Regions from separate parts of the Homo sapiens genome. Here region 1 is linked to region 2. The links are contacts of gene promoters, found by promoter capture Hi-C in blood cells and fetal thymus (Javierre and others, 2016). All regions are on one chromosome and are shown on one strand. The core of a region is centred on a gene start or on the middle of the fragment in contact, and the rest is flanking DNA. Distances in the headings are between cores, read along the strand shown. Region 1 has its middle 24 kb from the start of WASHC2A. Region 2 holds the start of SLC18A3 (solute carrier family 18 member A3).

The links. The method cuts DNA at HindIII sites, captures the fragments that hold promoters and counts their contacts. A CHiCAGO score of 5 or more calls a contact.
Region 1: a contact is called between a fragment that was not itself captured here and the fragment with the promoter of SLC18A3 in region 2, in 1 of 17 cell types (erythroblasts). The highest score is 6.5, in erythroblasts.

The regions. Positions count from the first base shown.
Region 1 is chr10:50,041,873-50,046,599 of GRCh38, reverse strand. It overlaps the pseudogene FAM21EP. Among named protein-coding and RNA genes, the nearest start is that of WASHC2A, 24 kb to the left of the region's middle. The HindIII fragment of the contact is 2,638 bases long and covers 2,113-4,727 here.
Region 2 is chr10:49,607,400-49,612,618 of GRCh38, reverse strand. SLC18A3 (solute carrier family 18 member A3) reads right to left here and starts at 2,309. Exons shown (of 1, transcript NM_003055.3): 1 at 1-2,309. The coding sequence starts at 1,878. The coding sequence ends at 280. It also overlaps a transcript of CHAT not described here. RefSeq lists enhancers at 1-440, 441-1,337, 2,382-3,176, 3,177-3,972. The HindIII fragment of the contact is 17,270 bases long and covers 1-5,219 here.

The sequences.
Region 1 (4,727 bases), core at 2,182-4,681, 430 kb before region 2:
TCCACATCAAGGAATTCCCAAGCATATATAATTTGTGTTTTCTACTCGAACATATGAATTTATGATGGATTATCCAGTTTTTTTCTTTTAAACATTGTCAGTGATTGTTCCCCCTGTAGCAACAGCCAGACATCAGTGTAGTTGCTCCTACTAGAGTATTATAGTGGTTCAGGGAAAATAAAAACATTACCTAAAGCTTGGAGCAAAAAGATATGCAGAGGAAAGATAGCCAAGGTTCTAGAACAGGGGCGTCCAGTCTTTTGGCTTCCCTGGCCCACACTGGAAGAAGAAGAATTGTCTTGGGTCACACATAAAATGCACTAATACTAACAATAGCTGATGAACTAAAAAAAAAAAAAAAAAAAGGTTCATGCATAAATCCCATAATGTTTTAAGAAAGTTTACAGATTTGTGGTGGGCCGCATTCAAAGCCATACTGGGCTGTGTGTGGCCCATGGGCCACGGGTTGGACAAGCTTGTCCTAGAACAAAGGCTGTCAACTTCGGCTGCTCACTGGGATCCATGGGGAACTTAAAAGAGTGCTGACAGGCCAGGCACAGTGGCTCACGCCTGTAATCCCAGCAGTCTGGGAGGCAGAGGTGGGCAGATCACCTGAGATTAGGAGTTTGAGACCAGGCTGGCCAACATGGCGAAACTCCGTCTCTACTAAAAAATATAGAAATTATCTGGGCGTGGTGGTGCCTGCCTGTAATCCCAGCTACTCAGGAGGCTGAAGCAGGAGAATCACTGGAACCTGGGAGGCAGAGGTTGCAGTGAGCCAAGATCGTGCCACTGCACTGCAGCCAGGGCCACAGAGCGAGACTCTGTCTCAAAAAAGGAAAAAAAATAAAAAGAAAAGACCTAATGAGTGCTGACAGTGGATCCCAGCTCCAGAGATTCTGAATTAATCTGGTTGGGGTACAGCCTCGTCATTGGAGTTTTGTGATGCTCTCTAGTGGATTTCAGCATTTAGTCACTGCTAAACATTGAGGAGCACTTCTCAAACCTTCATGTTTAGGAAATCACCTGGGCACCCTGTGAAATGCAGGTTCTGACTCAGAAAATAGGGGCGGGGCCTGAAATTCTGCATAATCTGCTGCTGGCTTGTGGACTCCACTTTGATTTGTAAGACTCTAGACTCCAGAGATACAGCACTTATGCAAGTGCTTGGGAGTTCTTTGATTTGAAGGGGTGTGAGCACAGTCGAGTAGAATTTCCCTAAATGCTTTCTAAAGGCCACATTCAGACTTGTGGTAAAAGGATTACTAGCAGTTTTTCATTGTGTCTTGTTCACATGTGTGTTGCATGAGTTTTTACACTTTTTTTTTCAATCTGCTTTAGGATTTTTAGAATTAAAATGTCATTCTTCTCTGGAGTTGGAAGTTTTTGAGTTCTTGGTATTTTTACATTCGGCTTCCTTATAGCCTCTGTAATTAATGTTGATCCCTTGAAATAAACAAGTCGCTTGTCGTAATATAGTGCAGAACCACAGTAGGAAGAGATATCATGGCAGATGTTGGAGGAAGAAATCATGGGAAGCTCTGTGAGGTCAGAGAGCCCAGCTGTCTAGATTTGAGTTCAAAGGAAAGTCTTAGGCATGAGCTTTCTTCAAGACTGATGCACTAAGTTTAATACTTAGTTTAAATACAACTTAGTTTAACAAATATAAGTTTTATTTTACTTCCCATGTTTTATAATCTAAATTGCCATTGGACTTTTTTTTTTTTTTTTTTTTTTTGAGACAGAGTCTCGCTCTGTCCCCCAGGCTGGAGTGCAGTGGCGTGATCTCTGTTCACTGCAAGCTCCGCCTGCTGGGTTCACTCCATTCTCCTGCCTCAGCCTCCCAAATAGCTGTGACTACAGGTGCCTGTCACCGTGCCTGGCTCATTTTTTTGTGTTTTTAGTAGAGATGGGGTTTCACCGTGTTAGCCAGGATGGTCTCAATCTCCTGACCTTGTGATCCACATGCCTCAGCCTCCCAAAGTGCTGGGTTTACAGGCATGAGACACTGCGCCCAGCCTATGGCAATATTTTTAATGGCAGCTTCACATTCTGGATATCTTTATGTTGGGGAAAAAGTTTCAAAGGTAACTGCTCTTCTGTAGCTAAGCTTTTTTAGAGCAGAGGATGGAGCAAATTCTGAGTTACTGAAATTACATATTTAGCGCTATTGCCTTGTTTAGCTTTAACTTCTATTTCATCTTTATAGTTGTCTTTTCAGACGTTTTCAGAAGAGATGAGAGAAATGCTTTGGGAATTGATTTGGAAATCTTTTTGCTGTCATTACTTTTAATAGCTAGATATATGTTTTAATTGTAAAAAATTCTGGAAATACTTTTTTCTCTACCTGCCCCCATTTTTTTTTGTTTTTTTTCTGAGACAAGGTCTGGTTGTGTTGCCCAGGCTGGGGTGCGGTGGCATAATCATACCTTGCTGCACCTTTGAGCTCCAGGACTCCAGTGATCCTCCCACCTTAGCCTCCTGAATGGCTGGGACTACAGATGTGTGCCATCATGCCCAGCTAATTTTTTTTTTAATTTTGTAGAGACAAGGATCTTGCTATGTTGCCCAGGCTGGTCTCAACCTTCTTACCTCAAGTGATTCTCCCACCTTGGCCTCCTGAATTGCTGGGATTACAGGCATGAGCTACCGTGGCCAGCTTTTTTTCTGTTTTGTTTCTTGTTCCCCTTCTGTTTTGTTTTTTTTAGCTGTTTTTCCATCCCATCTTTAAGTCTTCATTGCCCCCTCATTTTCCAACATCATGAGTCCCACAGCATGCTCAGCTAAGCACGACCACACACCATTTCAAGAAGCTGTTCATGGACCCAGCTTTTAGTACTGGCTGGGTCTTTGTCCTGCTGCAGCTTCCATTTGTTCCTCAGCTACCCTCTAGGCATCCAGTCTGGCTTAACCAGATTTCATGGCCTCATTTTGTCCTCTGCTACAGTGATTTCTACTCCTGAGGAGAAGCATAACTATCTTCTAGAGGGAAACATTTTCCTTTTGGTTATCAATCTTAGTTCTTTTAGGATATTGGAAATTACCCCATTGACTGGACCCAGACTTATGGTGGAAGTTCCAGCACAATTAATACTGAACGGGGTTGTGCTTTTTCTTCTGGCATATAATTGAATTATCCATTCTCATTATAGGTGAAGGACTTGCAAATCTGTTTGTTATCTTCTACCCTCCCCCAGCCTATTATTTTCAGGGTCTCACTATGGAAGAACACTGTGGTGAAGGAAACAATCCAGATTCCTTTGGCAGTCATAGTCACTCATGTCTTTATTTCTGTCATGTGCATTTTGCAGTCCTGACACCTGACTTCTGTTGCTAGAGCCGCAACTATGTAGGTAGGAGTACTGTTGGCTTCGGGGATACACACACTGGTGACCCTATAGGACAGTCTTATTTGATATAGCATAAGTATGTTTTTAAGAATTCATGTTATCCAAAATTATAAAAGCAGTTGTTTGAATGAGTGAAAGAAAGGGGGTTAAGTTTAGAGAGCTCCATACAAAGTCATATATAAGCAATGCAGCTTTTAAATTTAGCTTTTATTTAAGAGCAATGACCCTTTACCACTATCACCAGCAGTATTATTAGCCTGGTACCTTGTATTACTCTAATACCCATCATTTTGAAATGTGGTGCAACAACACTCAAAAGAGCTATGCTACAAGAAACAACTTTCCTTTCTGTAATGCCCTCCCTTTAGGATCACTAGAAGTTTGAACAATGCAATTCAGATTCCCAAATTAATTATCTTTCCTATTAATATTATAAAAACTCATAGCAGATTCCTGTATGTGCATGTATGTTATGAGTTGGATAAACATTGATGGACTTCATTTGGAGTGAATCAGAATGGGATTCCTGTGAGAAGCCAACATCCCTCTAAACAAACTTTTGGAGCATGATATGGCTTGGATGTTTTGTCCCCTCCAAATCTCATGTTGAAATCTGACCGCCAGTATCGGAAGTGGGCCTAGTGGGAGGTGTTTGGGTCATGGGGGTGGATCCTCATGAATGTCTTGGTGCTGCCCTTGTGGTAATGAATGAGTTCTCACTCTGATTTCACATGAGATCTGGATTAAAAGAACCTGGGGGCTAGGCATGGTGGCTCATGCCTGTAATCTCAGCACTTTGGGAGGCTGAGGCTGGCAGATCACAATTTCAGGAGATGGAGACCATCCTGGCCAACATCTTGAAACCCTATCTCTACTAAAAATACAAAAATTAGCCAGGTGTGGTGGCACGTATCTGTAGTCCCAGCTACTCAGGAGGCTGAGGCAGGAGAATCGCTTGAACCCAGGAGGCAGATGTTGCAGTGAGCTGAGATCGCGCCACTGCACTCCAGCCTGGGTGACAGAGCAAGACTCTGTCTTAAACAAACAAATAAACACAACCTGGCACCTCTTTCTTCTCTCTCTCTTGTTCTCTCACCATGTAACATGCTGGCTCCTTTCCTCTTGCCATGATTGTAAACTTCCTGAGGCCCTCACCAGAAGCAGATACCAGCATTATACTCCTTGTACACTCTACGGAACTGTGAGCCAAAATAAAACTCTTTTCTTTATAAATTGCCCAGTCTCAGGTATTCCTTTATAGCAATATGAACAGGCTAACACAGAGGATAACCAAATATTTATTAATGTCTAAAACTTGGAGAATACCTTACCTATAGCACAGGTTTGTTCTGAGGATCAATTGAAAGACTAAAATAT
Region 2 (5,219 bases), core at 1,060-3,559:
CTCTACACAGGGGAGCCGCAGGTGGGGACTCAGGGTCCTCTTCACCTCCGCAAGGAGCGCGATGGCTTCGCTGGCCTCGGTGCTCCAAGCCCCATTGGACAAGAGAGAAAGGGATATGGAACGGGTCACAGGGAGGGGATTTGGGCAGAAGTCAAGGTTGAGGAGTGGCTGGGGTACTCGCTGGAGGAGGTGGGCCCTGAGCCAGAGCTGGCCAGTGGGCTTGCAGAGCAGCCCCCTTGACCCAAGGCGGTTGGGTGGGCTGGAGGAGGAGTGGGGATGCTAGCTGCGGGTGTAGTAGTAGTTGTAGTCGTCCTCGCACGCATCAAAAGGGCCAGGCGGGCTGCGAGGCTCGCCGTCCTGGCCAGACACAGGACGCTCACGCAGGCGCACCGCATCGTACAGACCTTGCGGTGGCTCATCAAGCAGCACATCGCGCTCGGAACGGGAGCGCGTCAGGAGGCCCACGTTGCGGAGCAGCAGCAAGACGGGAGCATAGAGCAGGTTGGCCAGTCCCATGCCAAGGCTGAGCTGCTCAAAGCCCAGCGAGTGCACAATGTGGCCTGCCACTATGGGCCCGAGCGCGTAGGCCACCGAATAGGAGATGTCGGCGATGGCGTAGACGCTGCCATAGACTGAGACATGGCGCACGTCCACCAGGAAGGCGAGCGTGGGCAGCAGTGCTGTGTCGACTAGGGCTATGCCAAAACAGAGGCCGCATAGTGAGACCACTAGCGGCGCGAAGGAGCGGCAGGCGGGCACGATGCACGAGCTGGCGCCGATCACAGCCAGCCCAAGCGCGCCGTACAGCCACTGCAGGTGTGGGTAGCGCGCCGCCAGGCGCACGGTGAGGTAGACGCCCAGCACATGAGGCACGAAGGCCGGCAGCCAGGCCATGCCCATCTCCCACTCGGAAGCCGCCATCGTATGCTTCATCCACGTGGCAATGGTGGGTTCGAGGAAGGCGAGGGGAATGTTACAGGTGGTGAGCGCGCCGGCCACCACGGCAATGTAGGGGTCTAGCATGAGGCGGTGGATGGGAGTGCCCACTGGCAGGTTGGCCCGAGCCCGTGCAGCCGCCGAGAAGGGTTTGGCCACTGCCAGCAGCAACAGCGCGTCAAAGAGCGACACGGCAGCTAGCACCAAGAAGGGCACGCGCTTGCCGGCGAACTCATAGAGGATGCCCCCGAAGGGCGGGGCCACTAGGCTTCCGAAGCTAATGAAGGCCAGCGCCACGCCCAGTGCACGACTGCGCTCCGGCTCCTCCGGGTACTTATCGGCGATCATGGCTATGCCAGACGTGTCGGCGAAGGCTGAGCCCAGGCCCTGCAGGCTGCGCGCCGCGAACAGCGTGGCGTAGTCCTCGGCGAAGGCGAACAGGACTGTAGAGGCGAACATGACGCCCAGGCCGATCAGCAGCGGCACGTCGTAGCTCATGCGGTCGATGAAGGGCCCGCTCAAGGGGTTCACTAGCAGCTGCAGGATAGCCTTGGAAGCAAACAGCACCCCGATCTTCACGTCTTCGCTCTCCGTAGGGTAGCGGGGCCGAAGGGCTGAGCCCGCTGGCCACGCAGCTGTCGGGGACGCCGAGGTGTTGGCCGTGTAGGCGCTGGCATTGGCCGGAGTGGGCAGCGGCAGGGTGGGCTCCCACACCTCGGGAGTCCGGGTGGGGCCCTCGCCGCCCCCGCGCATGTGGGCGATGTAGTCGGGCACTATGGGCACGATGACCATGTACAGCATGTTGTCCAGTAACAGCGCCACGCACACGATAACAAGCACCAGGCGCCTCTGCCGCCGGGGCTCCTGCAGCGCCGCGCCCACAGCCTCCGACAGCTTGGTGGCCGCCGCCCGGGCCTGGCCCGCAGGTTCCGCGGATTCCATGCCCCCACCCCGATGCTCTTCCGAGGACGCCTCCGCCAGGGCCGAGCGCTGGCGTCCCGCAGTGCAGAGGCGAGGGCACGGGACTTCGGGGAGGCTGTCCTGGCCGAGCAGACTCCCCTGTGCCTCAGGTGGCCGCGGAGCTCATGGCCCAGCGTCCCGGGAAAGGAAAGGACTCCGTCCGGCGAGGCGTTGCAGCTACTCTTAGCCGATCCCGGGACCCGCGGCTGCTGGGCTCAGGGGCGGCCGGGAAGTCGGGCGCGCCGAGGGGCCGGGGCCGGAGACTGGGCGCACTTCGCCCGGGGCGCGCCCAGAGCAGCCCCCGCCGCGCTAAGAGGCCGCCCGCGCTGGCCGAGGGACATGCTGTTGCCGCCCGCCCGCTTGCCCGCCCGTTAGCCCCGCCGCTGCGCTCCCCTCCCCTCGCGTCGGCTCTTGCCTCCTCCGCCGCCTCCTCTTTTTTTTTCCCTTCCACTCGGGGCTGTGACGCGGCGAGTCCCAGCCCCCGAGTGGTGCCCGGGCCACTTACGTCGCTCATGCTAATGCGACGTCGGCGGGGCGGGGGCCGGGGGCGGGGCGTGGCCGGGCAGGGGTCCGCTCTCCAGATGCTCCAGGGCTGGAGGCCCAGGAAGGGCTCTCGGTGTGGAAGTCTTGAACCAGCCCCTGGGATGGGCGTTCCGCGCCGGTAGCTGGCCCTCTGCCCCCCGCCCCCTGCCTGCCCCCCGCCCGCGGTTCTAGGACTCGCGGGGTCAGCGCCCGCTCTTCTCCTCTTGGGGAAGGGGGCGCGGCAGCCGGTTCCTCGAGGCCCCTTGGGAGAGGCGGGAGCCAGAGGCTTGCGATCTCCGCTTCAGCCTGGACCTCGGCGCACAGCGAGCAGGAAGCCCCCGAGGTGAGCCGCCGCTGCGTCCATCTGTTCTCGCAGCTGGATTGTGGAGCCGCGTCCGGAGGAGCGCTGGACACGGACACCCCCAACCCTTTCTCCGACTCCGCCCCCTGGCCCCTTGCACACACACTCCCGCCAGGAGGGGAGGGGAAGGCTCAGCAACTGCCTGGCCTGGCTCTGACCCACCGGCCCCTCCGCAGAATTTCTCGGCCGCGAATCGCGGCCGGGAGCTTGTGGGGACTGAGGGCAGAAGTTGCCGCGCCCCAGTCGGGGTCGCGAATATTAGCCTGGCCGCTGCCGCCCTCCCGCACTGCCTGGCCACATTCCCCTTGCCTGGAATCCCCCTTTCTCCTTTAGCGGTCTGGTCCCCCAGCTCCGCCTCTTCTCTCCCCGCCGCCGCACCCCCTCCCCACTCTAACTCCTCCCAGGCACTCTTCGCACCCGACCAAGCCCTCCCTCGGCTCCTGCCAGCCTCCGCCCCCTGTTCTGCACACTCCCCCATCCCTCATTTTCCAGAGCCTCCTCCAAGCCCCGGGTGGGCTCTGGAGTGACTGTGGCTGGGGTCCTCTCTTGGAACTGTAAGAAACCCTTCTTGGGTGCCGCGCCCACTCCCCGGAGAGCGCCCAGCCGCTTCGCTGTCGTCAGGGGCTCCAGGGAGACTCACCTTCCTTCTGAGAGGGCCGCACCCCTTGAGGCGCCCGTGCTCAGCTGACAGGCTGAGCTGCCCAGGCTGTGCGCTGGGCCTGACGCGTCCCCAGAGCGGCGTTGACCCTGGATGGCACATGGAACCCGTGTTCCAGTGGGCGGACTGGCGGGAGAGAGGCTCCAGGGCGGCTGAGGTTGGAGGTGGGGATTGTGTTGTTGAGATTACGGTTTGCGTCTCTCTTCCAGAGTCAGAGGGGAGCCTTCCCATTTTTCTGGCCTCAAAAGTAAAGCAGCATTAGACGCAGATGCTTCTCCCATTGTGCCCCCCACCCCGCAGGAAGTGCCGCGATGCAGTGCAAAGAGTGTGGTCTTTCGAGGCAGACAACCAGGATGGCTCCCAGCTCTGCCACGTACTCATTAGAGTACCTGCAGGGAATTACTTTGCCTCTCTGTCCCTCAGTTAGTTTCTTTGTAAAATTGAATAATAATAGTACCTACTGCTAAGGGGGCCGGGCACACAGTAAGAGCAGTATAAGGACTTGCTATGTTGTTATCGTGTGTAGAATGTGCGGTTTATCCTCATTTTTCACTTGTGGGTCTTGTGAAGAACAGATGAAAGACACAGGGGGCACTTGGCTAGCTGGCTGATCCCTCTGGCTAGGTGGGCATTGTGACTCCAGGCTCTGTCTGGGTTGGTGGAGGACCCGGAGGGCATTGGAATGTCTCCATCTGTCCCTGAGATGGCTGTAGGATGAGGGGATGGGGACCAATGTGTCAGGGTGAGAGGCGGCAGCCTGGCCACCTGTTGCTCAATTCCTTCACCCACCCAGTCACCCTGGGAAAGGAGAAACTCATCCACTGAAGGGCTGCTGCCACCTGCTCTGCAGTGACTGAAGTGCCCTCTGTCTGAGGGAGGAAAAGAGTCCCAATGTGGGCACAGGCCTGGCCCTGGATGACCTTGGGCAAGTCACAGCCCCTCAGTGGGGCCCAGCCTCAGCCTCCGTCTGGTTCAGGTTGAGGTGAGAGCCCACTCACTGCAGCCCTTAGCAGAAGTGCGTGCTGCAGAAGACTCTTTGGAGTGGGCTAATTATTTTAAATTGTATTTGATGGCCTTTCGTCAGTACATGCACACTCTCCAGCACATCCCAATCTCGCCCCAGCTGACTTCACACACTTATGCCACTTGCTGGTTCTCCAGTCATTTCCGTTTGAGACCTCTGGGCTCTTCTGACTCTCCCATTATGAGGCTCTTAAAGGGGCAGTCTCCCAGCCTACAAAACAATTATTATTTATGCACATGCTATTTCCCCTGTCTGATTAAAGAAAGGAGGAAGGAGGACTTGAAGGACAATTTTTTTTTATGTCTAGTGGCTGAAGAACAGAGGAATCATAGAGGACAGGAACTTTCCCAGGGCCTTCAAGGTGCAGACCACATCTCCAGCCCTCTGGCCCACATGGCTGTTCCTGAGCATGAAGCCAGGTATCTCTGGGCTCATGACTAGCTCTCCAGTCCTCGGTTCCTGTATGGCAGGAGGCACACTCATTTATTACTTGCTTTGTGCCAGGAGTATTGTGTGTGCTGTTTTACTCCATTCTCCTGCAATCCTGGTGCAGTGTAGGTGCTATTCCCCTGGTCTTATCAGGTGAGGAAGCTGGGCGTGGAGATGCTGGGTGCTTGCCCAAGCTCCCAGCAGCAGATCCTGGAATTAAACCCAGGCTGGGGGACCTGTCTTGTGGTCCTCACACTGCTTCCCTATTCCCGGCACGGCGTCGTGCTCCTGCTGCTCCATCTCCAAGGTGGCCGCACGCTGGCAGTGTA